Linked DNA regions of Homo sapiens: region 1 is linked to region 2. The links are contacts of gene promoters, found by promoter capture Hi-C in blood cells and fetal thymus (Javierre and others, 2016). All regions are on one chromosome and are shown on one strand. Each heading gives the region's core, a stretch centred on a gene start or on the middle of the fragment in contact. The rest is flanking DNA. Distances are from core to core; before and after follow the strand shown.

The links. The method cuts DNA at HindIII sites, captures the fragments that hold promoters and counts their contacts. A CHiCAGO score of 5 or more calls a contact.
Region 1: a contact is called between a fragment that was not itself captured here and the fragment with the promoter of CDON in region 2, in 1 of 17 cell types (activated CD4 T cells). The highest score is 7.5, in activated CD4 T cells.

What each region holds. Positions count from the first base shown.
Region 1 is chr11:124,956,126-124,959,165 of GRCh38, reverse strand. It overlaps CCDC15 (coiled-coil domain containing 15), which reads right to left. Exons shown (of 16, transcript NM_025004.3): 3 at 1-51. Among named protein-coding and RNA genes, the nearest start is that of CCDC15, 3.4 kb to the right of the region's middle. The HindIII fragment of the contact is 1,387 bases long and covers 908-2,294 here.
Region 2 is chr11:126,061,152-126,064,209 of GRCh38, reverse strand. It overlaps CDON (cell adhesion associated, oncogene regulated), which reads left to right and starts at 1,344. Exons shown (of 20, transcript NM_001378964.1): 1 at 1,344-1,631. RefSeq lists silencers at 757-846, 917-1,586. The HindIII fragment of the contact is 2,855 bases long and covers 1-2,151 here.

The sequences.
Region 1 (3,040 bases), core at 352-2,851, 1.1 Mb after region 2:
TTTTTTTCTTAGCTGTTCCTTTAGTTCTTCTTCAATTAAATATGCTGATGTCTTTAAAGATGAAAGACAGAAAATGAACTTAAATGTTAGCAGTTTTGTCCATTAGGGCTGTTTTAAACACAAAACAGTCAGGATAAGGATACAATCCTGAAAAAAATAATTCCATTCTGTACAAAAAAAAATGGAATGTATGAGTATCAAATCTTAAATTTTTTATTGAATTAGAACTAACGATGTCTTCATTAAATCTTAATGAACCAAATAAAACCTAACACGTTACACATTTTCTAAAATGGAGTAAATAGTCAAGACACACCAGGTTACTTACCACTCACCAAATATGTCCTATTGTTAAAATGTCTTCATATTTGGCATTATGCTCCATTTTTAACCTGGCATGCCCTTCCTTTCATCTCCACCTAGTAAAGGCCTATTCAGTTTTCACAACCATTTAATACCCACTCCCCAGTACCTTCCACAACACTCTCTCTCTAAGCCCTCTTATGCTATAACACCTCTCATTTCACCAATGTTAACTGAGTATAGTACTTCTTGACTCCCCTACTAGATTATGAACTCTTTGAGGACAGGATATGTATTCAATTCTCCTTTATTTCCCCTACGGCATCTAGTACAGAGCCTTCACTATAAGGGTAGTCAATATATATTTATATAATTGCTCAATTCCAAAACATATTCTAAACCAGGGGTGTCCAATATTTTGGCTTCCCTGGGCCATGTTGGAAGAACTGTCACATAAAATACATTAACACTAGTAGCTGATGAGAAAAAAAAAAATCACAAAAAAACTCATAGTGTTAATTAAGAAAATTTATTAATTTACATTGGGTCGCATTCAAAGCCATCCTGGGCCACATGTGGCCCATGGCCGCATGTTGGACAAGCTTGTTCTGAACAATCTGGAACACTTTATCCCATTTGAGTTCTTGATCTGCATTTATCTCCTCTAAGTGCTTTGAATAATAATCATAGTCATCATCATAACAGCACTTATCATTATTATGGATCTATCAGGTGACAAGTATTTTAACTACTTTGTAGCACTCTATCCTCAAAACCACCTTTGGCAGTAGGTATTCTTATCCCTTATGTTACAGATGAGGAAGCTGGAGTTCAGAAAGATTAAGTAATTTTAATATAGCTAACTAGTAGCAGAATTAGAAGTTTCTGACTCCAACAATTATGTTCCTCTCTACACTGCTTTTCTCTTGACTATGTCTCTCTTTCACTAGGAATTTTCAAATTAAATAAAATCATCATCATATCTCGTACCTATTCCTTCTAACTCAGTGATTCCAACTTCTAATTCTGAAGGGTACCTCAGATCATTTTACAGGCTGTCATTAAATTCTCAAAATCAAATGCATTCAAATTTCAATTTAAGTTAAAATTTCCAAGATGTCTATCCCATAAACTACTCTAGTGGAGTGTACAAGTGTCAAAGAACAATTAGGTAAAATAATTCCAACGGAGAGATATATACGTAATGAAGCCTGAACAACTGACCCAGCTTAACTCAAGCCCCAGACAAGTTTAAGCCATTCGGCCTCTTTCTTTTACCTCCATTTTCTCTGCTCCTCTTTTACTCCACAAGATTACAAGCCAGGTCATAAAGAAACTTCCACCTCTGTTCTTAGAGTGCTCATTCTGAAGGAAGTCAGCACCATATAAAAATTCAGACTACCCTGAGATTACCATGCTGTGAGGAAGCCCAAGTTAGTCAAACAGAGAAGCCATGTGAAAAGAGAAACATATCTAACCAGCACCCAGACATTCTAGTCATCCTAGGCCAAGCGTCAGATATGTGAATAAGAAAGCCATCTTGGACATTACAGCCCAGCAGGTGCCACATTACTGGGAGAACTTGACTATTGTCTAGCTCCAGCCAATAGCCGGAAAATAGTCAAGGTGTCTCAGACATGTCCAGTTATTTGAGCCCCAGCTGAGGTCCCAGACACTATGGGGCAGAAACAAGCCATTACCACTGTACCCTGCTCAAATTCCTGTTACATAGTATTATTTGCTTTATACCACTAAGTTCTGGGGTGGTTGGTTACACAGCAAAAGGTAACCAGAACAAATTATAAAATAATGCAATCCCATATATGATGATAGAACAGCAGTGTCTTTTGATGCTAATTTATTAATAATTATTGGGGGGAGGTAGTCTAAAGCTATGACATTTTTAGGAATCCTGATGGCCCCCTGAAATTTTGGGGAGAAAAATGAGTAGAAGTTCCCCTTTAGAACAGACATGATCTAAGGGCCAAGCTTTAGAAGTAACTATTCAGCATTTATTTTGAGCTGACAGAGCTATATCCGTTAATAAGGGTGGATACCCAGACTAGATATGCTAAAGCTATAAGGAGTTCTATTAGATGCTTGATCAAACTCCCTTTGGCTGGAACTGATCAGAAATTTTTAAATCAGGAAAAGGAGATATGTTTATCCATGTTCCAAGACTTTAATATTTTGAGTTAATGTGTGTGAATACGATAGTCAATACTTCTTAACATAGAAAAAGTTTGATGGTGTCAAATTTTAGGCATGTTGACACTACTGATATTATACAGATGTAATTTGAGCAATTACAAAGAGGTGTCAACAACTTAAATACCAAAATATCTTTATACCAAATCTTACCAAGTCTTGTGGGGTGTTTCCTGCATTCATCCCTTCTCATTCCACTCCTTTTTTTTTTCCAGAGATGGGGTCTCACTCTATTGCCCAGGCTAGAGTGCAGTAGTATGATCATAGTTCACTGCAGCCTACAATTCGTGGGCTCAAGCACTTCAATCATCCTTTTTCAAGGCTGTTCTTCTCTATTTCTTACCACTAACAAAGTTTCGATGCTATACTCCATGCTTAAATTATTATAATTATATTCTAATTTATCCCCAGGATCCAATCACTCCCTATCCTTCAAAACCTTTGAAGCAATTCATCTAAAGAAAACACTGGTTGATCATGACATTCACCTGTAAATATTAAACAAAGTCAATCCCTTCTCCAAAATTTC
Region 2 (3,058 bases), core at 95-2,594:
TGGGCAACAAGAGCACCCCAGCCTGGGCGACAGAGTGAGACTCCGTCTTAAGAAAAAAAATTGTGTTTTTTTTTTCCGTCCTGTACTGACTTTCTTTCCAGGGGCTTTACAAAAACCCTGAATCTAGCTAATGCAGAAAGCTAACCTGCTTGAACAATACCACACTTTCAAAGCATTTCTTTTTAAAATTCACGTAAGAAGGTAAGGGAGGACTGGCATATTTCTCCTGAAGTTCAGTACTGAGTATTTATAAACTTAACTATTATTAGGGATCCTTTTGTAGTTAAGCTAATAGTAAGTAATGATGATGGGGAAAAAAAAGAGCTAACTGCTAATAATAACAATTTATAAAGAAGTTACAGTCCTTGAATGCCCACTGAGTGGCAGGTGCTTTTCACAAAGTATCGTATTTACGCTTCACAGCAACATTTTGAATAGAAATTTATTTTTCCTTTTTCTGTTTGAACAACTGAAGTTCATTGAGTTCAGATAACTTGGGGCAGGTCCAACGGACGAGTTGGAAAGACTCTGGGGCCAAAGGCTCACACCACGCCTCTCCTAGCCCCTGAGTTTTGCTACCTGCTTGCGTTTATGTGCAGGCAGGGCGGGTGGGTGGTGGTGGGGGAATCAGATGAAGCTGCCTAAGGAATTAAACATGGAAAGTGGTGGAAAGGCGAAGGAGGTATAAGCGGTGGGCCGCTGGAACCCTAAGAGAGACCAGGCAAGAACCGGGAGAAGGGATGCACCCGTTGGCGGCTCAGAGAACTTAGGTAGAGGCGAGGGGCGGGGCGGGGCGAGGGGCGGGGCCTGAACGAGGCTAGGGCGGGGCCCGAACGAGGCTAGGGCGGGGCCCGAACGAGGCTAGGGCGGGGCCTCGGGGGACAGAGTCGACCATTTGGAGACCTGCCAGAAGAGCCGTCTCTCCAAGGGAATGAAAGGTGAGGGGAGCGTGAGTGCAGGCATGATGGGAATCTCCGTGACTTGGTAAGGCAACTCACCCTTACCTGTCCTACACCCAAGAAAAGCCTCTTCTATGCTCCCCTGGGGTATCTCTCTTGCAGAGTAGGCAGGTCAATGACGAGGAGAGGGTCCTGCCCAGAGCGTGCCCCCCTCCGTCACTTGGTACGGCCCGTGCCCCCGCCGCTGATCTGGCAGGCTGCGCGCGCACACTCCGGCCGGGTGCGGGCCGGCGGGGCACAGCGGCCTCTACGGCCCGCCTCCGTCAGTCATTCCCCGGTCCCTCCTCCCGCTGCTCGCGTGCTCCGGGCCGGCCCAGCACCCTCCGAGTTACGTGCCCGCGCTCCCCGGCGGGGAGGAGCGCAGCCGCGGGGGCGCGCCCCGGTGACTCCGCCCCTCAGCTCCCCTCCCCTGAGCCCGGGAGCCCGGCTCGCGCGGCTAGGTGCGAGGAGACCCGGGACCCCACGCCCGCCCGCCCTGCCCAGCGCCCCAGCCCCGGCGTGCGAGGCGCCGCTCCCTCCTCTGCCCTGCGCGGTGCATGGAGGGGCCCGTTCGGATCGCAGCCGCCGCCACCGTAGCCGCCGCCGCGCGCGCGCGGGGGGATGACCTGGGGGTGGCTTTCCGAGCCGGCTGCAGCGCAGGAGGTCTGGAGGCTTAGCCAGCCCCGCGGAGAGGTGCGGGGGTGGGGGTCCCGCCGCAGGGTCGGAGGGAGGGGTGGCGCGCGGGCACTGGGCTTGGGGGGCCTTGGCTTAGGGGACGGGAGGTCCCGGGGACGGGCGGGCCGGCGTTCCCTGGAGGGCGTGGGGGTGCAGGGCTGCGTGCGGGGTCTGGATGCTGATGCTTGCCCGGCGGGGAGCCCCGGCGTTCCGCGTCCTCGGGGGCTCGGAGGCACCTCGCGGGAGGAGGCGGGGTGAGGTGTCAGTGACACGACGAAACCTCTTCTTGACGATGGTCCTCGGGGGCAGGTGAGATGCCGCAGAGCGGGGAGCTAGGGCGCCCGCGCGTTTTCCCAAGGGAGCCGGGTCCCTGGCCTCTCTCAATCTCCATCCCTGCAGAGCGCCCGCGAGAGACAGTGATTTATGTGTAGGGAGAAGCAAGAGAAATTTCCTGCACAATGTATCTTTCTCTGCCTTCACAAGACTCACTGACTTCCCAGCCCCAGGGAGTGTATTTTTCCTTCTCCTCTGTAAAGCTTTCTGTGGATTGCATTATCATTTGCTAAATACATTACAGCTCGCTATTTATTTCAGTCGGCAGCTTCCAGACCTTTGTTGCTTTCTCTCCACATCTAGGAATTTCAGCAATAAATCACTGAGGGGGATAGATAGACTCTCTTGCCCTTCCCTTCATTGTTCTCCCTAACCCCACCAAATCAGGTGGAAGGCTCTCCAAAAGGAGCTGTTTCCAGAATGCCTGCCCTTCCTCATCAGGACGACAGAGGGTGGCAGGTGCTTTAAGGGCAGACTGCTTTCCAGTGGGAATCCAGAATTTAGAGAACCTCATCAACAGAAAGTCAGCCTTTGTGTCCCAAACCAGACACCTTGAAAAACAGGAGGTTGGACTAAAAGCTCACATGAGATTTATTTTCAGGCCTATGCCAGTAAAGATGAAAGACGCCAAGTCAGTGAATTCTGATTCCTTTCGGCGCTGATAACATAACCCTCAAATTCCCAACTGACACTTGGCATACCTAGTGGACAGTGTCTCCAAGGAGAGGAAGGTGGGGAGGGTGTTAGAAAATGAAATGAGTTTATTGTCAGCATAATTCTAAACATTCTATGACATTTTGTAGTTCTCCCCCACCCTCAGTCTATTTTTAGCTGAAAATTTGGGGATAGTTCAACTTTTAAGATAAGATGAAAGAAAACCTTCAAAAAATTTTCTGGAAATTTTAAATTAGTGCTTAACTAGAAAGCATTCTTTGGAACCCGAGAAGCACCAAATACTGCAGTCTCTGTTATGCACATGTTGGAATGAACTGCCTCATACTTGAAGTTATATGAGAAGGATGGAGAAAACCTGTTTCATTTTGTAAAGACGTGCCCTGGGTGTGTGTTTGGCAGTGTGTAGAACAGAAACATTTATATTTCTATTAAGAAAC